Linked DNA regions of Homo sapiens: regions 1 and 2 are each linked to region 3. The links are contacts of gene promoters, found by promoter capture Hi-C in human tissues and cell types (Jung and others, 2019). All regions are on one chromosome and are shown on one strand. Each heading gives the region's core, a stretch centred on a gene start or on the middle of the fragment in contact. The rest is flanking DNA. Distances are from core to core; before and after follow the strand shown.

The links. The method cuts DNA at HindIII sites, captures the fragments that hold promoters and counts their contacts. A contact is called where the count stands out against the background at its distance.
Region 1: a contact is called between a fragment that was not itself captured here and the fragment with the promoter of MED27 in region 3, in 2 of the 25 tissues and cell types used here (adrenal gland and liver).
Region 2: a contact is called between the fragment with the promoter of NTNG2 here and the fragment with the promoter of MED27 in region 3, in 1 of the 25 tissues and cell types used here (dorsolateral prefrontal cortex).

Annotation. Positions count from the first base shown.
Region 1 is chr9:131,983,641-131,986,673 of GRCh38, forward strand. The region is part of intron 3 of MED27 (mediator complex subunit 27); the gene reads right to left. Among named protein-coding and RNA genes, the nearest start is that of MED27, 95 kb to the right of the region's middle. The HindIII fragment of the contact is 4,884 bases long and covers 1-3,033 here.
Region 2 is chr9:132,160,781-132,164,136 of GRCh38, forward strand. It overlaps NTNG2 (netrin G2), which reads left to right and starts at 1,278. Exons shown (of 8, transcript NM_032536.4): 1 at 1,278-1,459. LOC124902291 (a long non-coding RNA gene) reads right to left here and starts at 920. Exons shown (of 2, transcript XR_007061826.1): 1 at 836-920. The HindIII fragment of the contact is 9,283 bases long and covers 1-3,356 here.
Region 3 is chr9:132,078,344-132,081,268 of GRCh38, forward strand. MED27 (mediator complex subunit 27) reads right to left here and starts at 1,524. Exons shown (of 8, transcript NM_004269.4): 1 at 1,299-1,524. The coding sequence starts at 1,501. RefSeq lists an enhancer at 1,421-1,700. The HindIII fragment of the contact is 14,332 bases long and covers 1-2,925 here.

The DNA of each region.
Region 1 (3,033 bases), core at 75-2,574, 95 kb before region 3:
ACTTTTGAGACAACCTTTCATTTTCAATCATGCAGAGGTAGGTGTTTTCACTAATAGTCTAATTATATCTCATATTTTCATTCTACACAATATTTTGCTTCTATATTTGAAATAACCGAATTCATCTGTGCTAATAAATGTTCTAAATGGATATCTTAATAATTGAAATTAGCACATACTATACCCCTCAAAACAATTTACAAAACAAGAACTATTGTTTACATTACACAACAAGGCAAAACCAGCCATGATAGTAGCTTGGCTCCAGGTCACATATCAGGTGAAATTCCTCATGCAGCTCCAACTGATCCAGCTGTATTTGATCAGAGCCACTTTCTGACCTCTCGTCTCAAGAGTAAGTCCAAGCCTTGGTGTTCACGGCCTCAACTTGTCTTTACCCCCTTATGTCACTGTTCCCCATCCTCTGTGTTGCTCTGTCTGGGACACCTACCCTAGAGACCTACACAGCTAACTCCCTCCCCACATTTGCTCAGATGTCACCATTTCAAGGCAGTTTCCCTGACCGTTCTTTTTAAAGTCGCTGCCCACCTCCCACAGGCCCAGCTCTCCTGGCTCTTCACATCCGCCCCACTTTCCCCGATAGCACTAATCACCTCCTCACATTCTGTACATGACTTCTGATTGTTTGTCTTCCATATTCTCCACTAGAATGTAAGCACCACAAGGGCAGGAGTCTGTTCACTCAAGTGCTCAGGGCTCCTAGAACAGTGCCTGCCATTTAGCAGGCACTCAGATGACTATGAACTCAAGATCGACTTGTTTGCCAGGCACTGTTCTAGGCACTGGGGTTACAGCAGTCACCAGAACAAACAGGGTCCCTCCTTCACAGGGATTTGGGCCAAATAACAAAACAAAACACAACATAATACACCCATAAGAGAACAGCGGAACAGAGCGCTACAGAGATCTTAAAAAGGTGTATGATACAAAGTGACTGGGGAAGCTACTTTAGATTGGGTAGTCAGGGAAGGTCCCTCTGAGGAGGTGTCATTTCAGCTAAAAACTACAATAAGGAGAAAGTATTTAAATCTTCCACATGCTTCTCTGATTTTCCATCTTGCTGGTCTGCTGTGAACTCCTGAGGTGAGTCACAGTCCCTGTTTCTCCTGGCGCTTCCTGACATTTATACATTTATGCTGGTATTTTGAGCCTGGGACTGACCTGTTATGGCCTCACTGTGGACTTACATTCTGTCCTTATAAAGCTTCTCTTTGCAGCCATTTATACCATATGCCTTGAGCTCAACCTTATCTAGTATTTCTATTACAAGTCCAGTTTTCTTTTAGTTAGAAATACAGGATCTGTCTTTGTCTAACAGCTGTTTTATGTTGTACATAGCAGGGTTTAATTTTGGGGACAATCTGAGTCTTTTTCCTGTAGTAGATATTTATCTCATTGGTATTTATTGATATTGCAGGTGTGTGGCCTAATTTGGTGGTCTTATGAGACTGTTTTGTTTTATCTTCTTTTATGTCTTATTTCATGTGTCCTGCTCTGGATGCTTGCTTTGGTTCTTTGCCTTTTGCTTTGCGGACTCTAAGTCTTTACTGTTTTCTTCAAGACTCTGGCATCCCCTTTCTTTTTAGTGCTTTTTAAGAATTTTCTTTCAAATTTTACATAATACACTAAAACCTCTATTTCTTAATGTTTAGATATATCTCCTGCTCCCAAATAAGATGAGAAAATTTGTCATCCCAATCTCCTCATTCTATGTGCTTTGTGAATATTTTTGCATTCCCATGTTTTATAACACAGTCAAGTGTCGCATAACAGTGTTTTGGTGAGACCGCATATATGACAGTGGTCCCATAAGATTATAATGAAGCTGGAAAATTCCTATCACATAGTAGCCATGGTAAAGTCACAGCACAACACATTACTCATGTGTTTGTGTTTAAGCTGGTGTCAACAAACCTACTGCACTGCCTGTCACATAGAAGCACAGCCTATACAATTATGTATAGTACAGAGTGCTTGATAATGATAATAAATGACTGTTACTGGTTTATGAATTTACTGTACTATAATTTTAATTGTTTTTTTTTTTTAGCATATACTACTTCTACTTATTAAAAACAGTTGACTGTAAAACATCCTCAGGCAGGTCCTTCAGGAGGGATCCAGAAGAAGGCATTGTTATCATAGGAGATGACAGCTCTGTGTGTTACTGCCTTTGAAGACCTTCCACTGGGACAAAATGTGAAGGTGGAAGACTCTGATACAGATGATCCTGACCCTGTGTAGGCCTAGGCTAATGTGTGCATTTGTGTCTTTGGTTTTAGCAAAAAAGTTTAAAAAGTAAGAAAAAAATAAATAAAATAAAACAAAAATAAAAAATAGAAAAAAGCTTTACAGAATAAGAATATAAAGAAAATCCTTTTGTACAGTTGTACAATGTATTTGTTTTAAGGTAAACGTCATAACAAAAGAATCAAAAAGTTAACAAAATGTAAAAGTTTATAAAGTGAAAAAGTAAGGCTAATTTATTACGGAAGAAAAAATGTTCTTACAGATTTAGTGTAGCTTGAGTGTACAGTGTCTGTAAAGTCTACAGCAGTGTATAGTAATGCCCTACACCTTCACATTCACTCACCATGGCTCACTGACTCACCCAGAGCAACCTGTAGTCCTGCAAGCTCCATGCATGGTGAAGTTCCTGTCCGGGTGTACCATTTTTTATCTTTCTTTTTGGTTTGTTTGTTATAGAGGCAGGGTCTTGCTATGTCGCCCAGGCTGGTTTTGAATTCCTGGCCTCAGGTAATCTTCCCACCTCAGCCTCCCAAGTACTGGGATTACAGGCATGAGCCACTGCACACAGCTCCATTTTTTTTTACCTTTCATACAGTATTTTTACTATACATTTACTATGCTTAGGTATGTTTAGATACATAAATACTTACCATTGTCTTACACTGCCTTTAGTACTCACTATGGTACCATGCTGTAGAGGTTTGTAGCCTAGGAGTAACAGGCTACACCTTATAGCCTAGGTGTGCCGTGGGTTCTACCATT
Region 2 (3,356 bases), core at 28-2,527, 82 kb after region 3:
CTGGCTGCTCAAGGCTGCAGTGAGCCCACCCCAGGAGGCCAGGAGTGTCCGAAAACCACATGTGCTTCTGGAAGATGTGGAAACTCTCCCAGAAGCCCTGGGAGGCAGGCTGGCAGGAAACCTCCTGGGGATCAGAGAGCCCAGGGCTGCCGGATATGATATTGTGAACTCGGTGGCCTCTGCCCGGGGCTGCTGCTACCGGAGCCCTCCCACACCTGCCTCCCATGCTTGCAGGGGAGGGAGACAGAGAACCCCTCAGCCAGGCCCCTCCTGCCCCACTACTCTGCACTCCCTGCAGAGCTGGCTTGGCTTCGTCAAAAGCAGGGCCCATCAGGGTGGAGGCGGCGATGTGTCAGCTGGTATTCAGGCTCTGGTTGTGCGCTCAGATCGCTCCCCCTCCCCATCTCCCCAAATCCACCCACCCACCCCGGTACCCACTGCTTGGGGCCTTCTGGGTGGCAGCACTTCACAGAGAGAGACCGAGGAGCAGCCCTGAGCCCTTGGCTGTGGGGGGTGGGGGAACTGACTCACTTGGCCCCCCTCCCTCGTGCCGATGGGGCAGCCCCCACACCCATGGGCGCTGGCACCCCGGCAGGCCCCCGGGTTTTGGAAGAGGAAGCTGCAGCCCGGCTGCGCCTGACCGGAGCCGGCTGAGGATGCGCTCTGGGCGCAGGGACCCGCTGGCCCCCGGGCCGGGAGGCGATGTTTAGGCAGCGACCCCCCAGAGGCTGCCGGGGCCACCCTGGCCACGGGCCCGCCGGGACGCCCCTGCTCGCCGCGCCCCTCCCCGGGCCGTGGCGCGTCCCCCGAGCCGCGCAATATTTCCTTCCTGCACCTTTAAGAAGACCGTTGCTCCGTGGTGGGATGGTGTGTTAAAGCCACACAGAGGAAGTTACGCAGCCCGGATCAGACCGAGAGATAAAAGCCCCGATGGTGATCGTGAGTGATGGCAAGAGGATTTAGCCTCGGCATTAACTTGGAGCGGAGTGCAGGGGGGCAGTGAAGCGCCCGCCATCTGGCCCGCGCCGCGCCGGGGGGATGCCCCGGCTCCCCGACGAGACGCCGCGAAGCCCACCCGGGCCGGGGGCTGCCCGGCGCCCGAGCGCGGGTCCTCCCCGGGCCGCCCAGGGGGGCCAAAAAGTTTGCACTTGTTAGCGGCGACCTCCCGCTCAGCCCGGGCGGGCGATGCGGGCGGCGCGGGCGGCCCCCTCCCCCGGCCCGCGTCTCCGGGACGGCTGCGGGCGGCCCCCCCGGCGGCCGGAGGGCTCCCTGGCCCCGATCTGACGGCGGCGGCGGCGGCGGCCACAGCGGCGGGAGCGGCGCGGGGAAGGAGCAGCGGCTCGCAGCCCTCGGCCCGCGCCCCCACCCAGCGCCAGCCCGAGGGGGGAGGCGCAGCGCCGGAGGGTGGCGGTCCTCGGCCCTCCCAGGTCTCCGCGCCGGGAAGCCGCTCCGAGCCGGGGTAAGGCGGGCGGGGAGAGCCCGGGAGGCGGGCGGGGGGAGAGGCTGCAGCTTGGCCAGGCCGGTTTCATTTTTAAAGGGCTTCGGTGACCATGCAGGCTTGCCCGGGCCCGGGAGCCACTTACAGCGGCCCGGCAAAGGCTCGGATGCAAAAGTTGTTTGGTGGCGGCTGCTACGAGCTGAGAACTGGAGTCGCCCCAGAGGGGTGTGTGAGGGTGCGTTCTTAGCAGCATCTTAAAGGGGTAGCTTGTCTTTCTGGCCAGCTTCCCCCGGGTCCTTTCCGTCGTGTGTGTGAGAGTGTGTGTGTGTGTGTGTGTGAGAGAGAGACAGAGTGTGTGTGTGTGTGTGTGTGTGTGTGTGTGTGTGTGTGTGTGTGTGTCGGGGAGGGATGTTGCAAGGATGCTCGGATGTGTCTCGGAAAAGGAAACTAACCCTGCTCCCGCGCCTCTCCCCCACCCCAATTCCACCGCCACCGCTTAGAGCCACCCCCATCCCGTGCCCTCCCATCTCTCTGCAAACTGGGAGCCTGTGAGTTGCACAGAGAAACTCCCGGCCAGTCCGGCTGGAAACTTCTCCCGGCGCCGGGAGGGGGTCGGGAGGTGAGGGGGCGCAGGCACTGGTTTGGGGCCGGCGTGGAGTCGAACCTGGAACTGAGCGGCGCGCAGGTGGGGGGAGCAGAGGCGGCGGGAAGGCGGGAAGAGAGGACCGCGGGCTCGCGGGGTCCGCCCGCTCCGGAGTAAGTTGGCCGTCTGGGCTGGGGGCGGCGGCGGCCGGGTCGCCACAGGCGGCAGCGCCGGGGCAAAGGATACAGCCAGTTCCTGGGCGCCCTGCTCTGTGTCTTTTAATTAAGAGAGGCAGTGCCGAAAAAGGGGGCGCCTCAGTCCCGGCCGGGCCTTTATTACGGGCTTAATTATTAATTGCTGCCGTGGCTTGCACGCAACTTTGGGAAGACGAAAAGCAGCTGCGGGGCTGCCGGGTCGTCGGTGTCCTAGGCACAGGGCTCGCAGCCGGCCCGAAGCACTGACTCGACCCTGGCCCCGGCCTCGACCCCGCCCGCGGCCCGCCGGGACCCACCCGGGAGCTGCTGCTCGCGCCCCGCCTCCCGCGCCCAACTTTCCAGGGCTCCCGCGGGCGGGGACCCAGGGGCCGGATAAAGGGCCCGCTCCGGAGCGGGGGGACACCCGGGCCGCCGGAATTAAGAGGCCCGCCGAGGCTACAGTGAGCGCGGGGCGCCCGCTGGACCCCGCCCGGGGCAGAGGACGGGAAGGTGACCCCGCCGGCCAAGCTCCCTTTCCCTCCCGGCAACCGCCACTCTCCCCTGAAAGCAGATTTCACCCCCCTCTGCCGCCCCTGCCGAGGAGGGAGAGGGAACCCCGGGGTGGGCTGAGTATCCCCCCTAGCCCCGGGAGCCCCCAGCGCCCTCCCTCCCGTGCCCCCAGGGGCCCCGCGCCCGCCGCGGCAAGTTTCCCACACGGCGAGGGCGCAGCAGGCAACTCCAAGAGGAACCTGCTGGCGAGCCCAGCCAGCTCGGGAGGCGCTAATTCAATAAGACAGAGAAATCTGAGTTCAGAAATCCTGATAAAATCTAATTTTCGAGTTTTAATACCCTGGCTATCAGCCCCCCTTGGTTCCTGAGGACTCTTAAAAGAAAATAAAGCACATTGATTCTATTTGTTTCTGGGAGCTGCAGTTTCTTAATAATATCAGGTGAAGATAAATTTTCCACGGAGAAAACGATCCTCCGGGATGCAGCTTCTTACTCTGAAAATTTCCCTGCCGACTCCTCACTCTCTGCGCTCCTCCTCGTTATCCGGGGACTCCTGCCTCTCTTCCCCCTTCTCTTTTTTCTTTTTGGCAGAACCCGCCTGCAATATTCGTGTGCTGAGCTCGTAATTCCC
Region 3 (2,925 bases), core at 274-2,773:
ATAATGTCAGCACTCTTAAAGTTTCTATTTAAAATGGTGAAGGGTTATAATATCCTGAACATTACAAAGGGAAGTAACTCGGAGAGAAAATGGAAAGAAAACAGAAGATAGGGAAGAATAGCCAGTGCATCCCCTGAAGCAGAGAAAGTATTAACTGGTGCTCGGCGCGGTGCCAGAGAACAGCAAGCGGATGTGGGCGTTGAGGAGGGCTGTGTGATTTACGGCAACTACTTAGGGGGAAAACAAAAAGGCACCCATCATTTGGCCACCTCCTCCTCCTCCTCCTCCATCCTACCTCCTCTTTCCATCTGGTTACTAAGGAGACCAAGTTGAAAAAACAAAAATCCAACCAGTCCAGAAATCAAAGGATGACTAGCTCACCAAATGCTTTCCCCTACTCAGGTCAGTTCTGAGAAGTAAAAGGCAAAAATCCTGAAATTCTAACCTTCCTGGGAAGGACTGACTCTCTTATAAAACAGAAGGCAAGTTCAGGACCTAAGCAATCAAGAAGTGCCTACTATGTGCCAGGCCCTTTACAAACATCCTCTCATTTAATTCTTACAACACTTAAAAAGTGTAAGTGAAGAAGGTACTTTGTAAGGAAGAGGAGGAAAAGTGGAATCCTTAACCCTAAAAGACTACAAATTAAGAAGCAGGGGCGTTAAGCATAAGTAATTAAACTGGTTAAGAGATTAGAGAGTAGGTCTCTACTGCGGAAGGAACTCCCACAGGAGTGGGAGTGAGGAAACTGATCAGGTGGTTTGGGAGCGGTTAGGGGAAAAGGTGAAGACAGCTCAAGGCCTGGCCGGTCCGTCGTGGTTGCGGGTGGGTGGTGGTGGAACTGATGAAGTCCAAGTTCAGGGCCGGGGAATTGGGGCTAATCAGATCGGGTGCACTTGGGTTTGGAGCCGACTGACCAGGTCCTGTCTGTACTATTACTACATTCGGATCAGACGTGATGGGGCACAGAGGGCCTACAGGTGAGAAACCTGCCAAGCTCAGAGAAGTGGAAGTTCATGGGAAAAGCATGCCTCCTTGTTAGGAATGGAACCGCCACAGAAGAGGTCGAGGATGGCGGAAGACAAACAGGACCAGGAGGCCAGGAGAAGCAAGACGAGAAAGCGGGGATGGTGTTAAGATGTCCCTGAGGGACAGGCAGAGGCTTGGAGAACAAGAAGAGAAAGAACAGGGATCAAGGGAAACGGAGAACAGCCCCTGCCTGGGAAGACTCGAGCGACGTAGGGGCAGGGTCGGAGCGGGGCCGGTCCCCGACCCCGGCCCCTTCAGCCGGTACCTACTTGAGGTCCCGGTTGACCGAATGTAAGTTGTCCTGGAAGTGCGCAATAAAGGCCTTCTCCCGGCCCTCCAGCGTCTCCTTGTTCCGCATCCCATCCTTCAGGCAGTCGAACACCCTGCTCACGCTGGAGCGCAGCGCCTGGATGGCACTAATGGCCTGGGAAAAGGCCTCCAGGTTCACACTGACATTTATCACGTCCGCCATGTTGCCGCCGCCACAGCAGCTCTCCAAAGCCGGCTTCGCAAGCAAAAAAGCCGCGCTCGCTGATGACGTATCTCCGAAGACCTCTGGGAAATGCAGTTCGCGCGGGGCTACCCAGAAAGCACTTTCGAAAAAGGGTTTCCCCTTGAGCTAAACTAATGCATGGGCAGGAAAGTGATTTTTCTCAACTTGGGGAAGTCAGGTTGCACTCCCGGTTTGCTTAATGGTGACAAAGAAATACAGAAAGTTCCCGCATTTCCCCAAACTTGCACTCTGGGGAATCATAGGGAAAAGAATTGCTCAGAGCAATAGTGTAAAAAGGAAAGGAACATAGCCCATTCAATAAAATGAGTCCATATTCATAAATAAAGCGGGGAGAAGGAAAGTTTCTTCTTTCCAATAGAATGCCAGCTCATAAATGCAGAAAGAGTGATGGAATTAGAAAATTGCCATTTGACAGCCATTAGAATAATTGATTCAGATAGAAATCGATGGATGCTAAAACTAGTGGGTGAAAGTGTCAGAAAAATAACAGGCTTTTTAGGTAATCTCAAAGTATCGTCCCCCAAGATGCTTATTAATTAAGAAGAGGAAAATAATGATCCAGAGATTCCACTTCTGGGCATATACCCAAAAGAAGCGAAAGCAGGGACTCAATACCTGTACACATGTTCATAACAGCATTATTCACCAAATAGCCAAAAGGCAGGGGAAACCCAAGTGTCCATAAACTGATGAATAAACAAAGTGTGATACTGGCATACAATGAAAAATTCTTCAGGCTTAAGCAAGAAAATTCTGACATATGCTACCTGGAGGAAACTTGAAGACATTATGCTAAGTGAAATAAGCCAGTCACAAAAAAACAAAATTCTGTGTGACTCCACTTATATGAGGTGTTTAGGGTAGTCAAAATGTTAGAGACAGAAAGTAGAATGGTGGCTGGTTTACAGTGAACACACACCTCTGAAAATAACATACATAGCATAGAGGTTGTGGAAGAAAGAGAAGGTTTGGGATTTAAATAAAACCAACAAAATGTTGGCCAAATCTGGCTTTATGGAAAAATTCAATGTCTCTTTGTCCTGTTGGCTATAGACAGGTTTCTGAAAATTTATTATCTTTTTACTAAAGGGAACCTGCCCAAGTCCTCATGTTCTTTCCTTAGAGGAGCTGGGGTTGCATAGCTTGGAGCAGAGAAGAGGAGAGCAGGAGGCAGATCATGATTGTGACCTTCAACTCACCTTCATGTCAACCCAAGACAAGAGTCCTCCTTGGTTAACTAGTGGCAATAACAATAACCAGTTGTAGGAAGGCTGTAGAGAGGAAGATTTCAGCATAATATTGCAAAGGGCCATATTTAAGTCTGTACTTAAAGAGTACAGACTTGGAAAAGTTTTACAGCTGGATGGTGGTGATGGCCATAC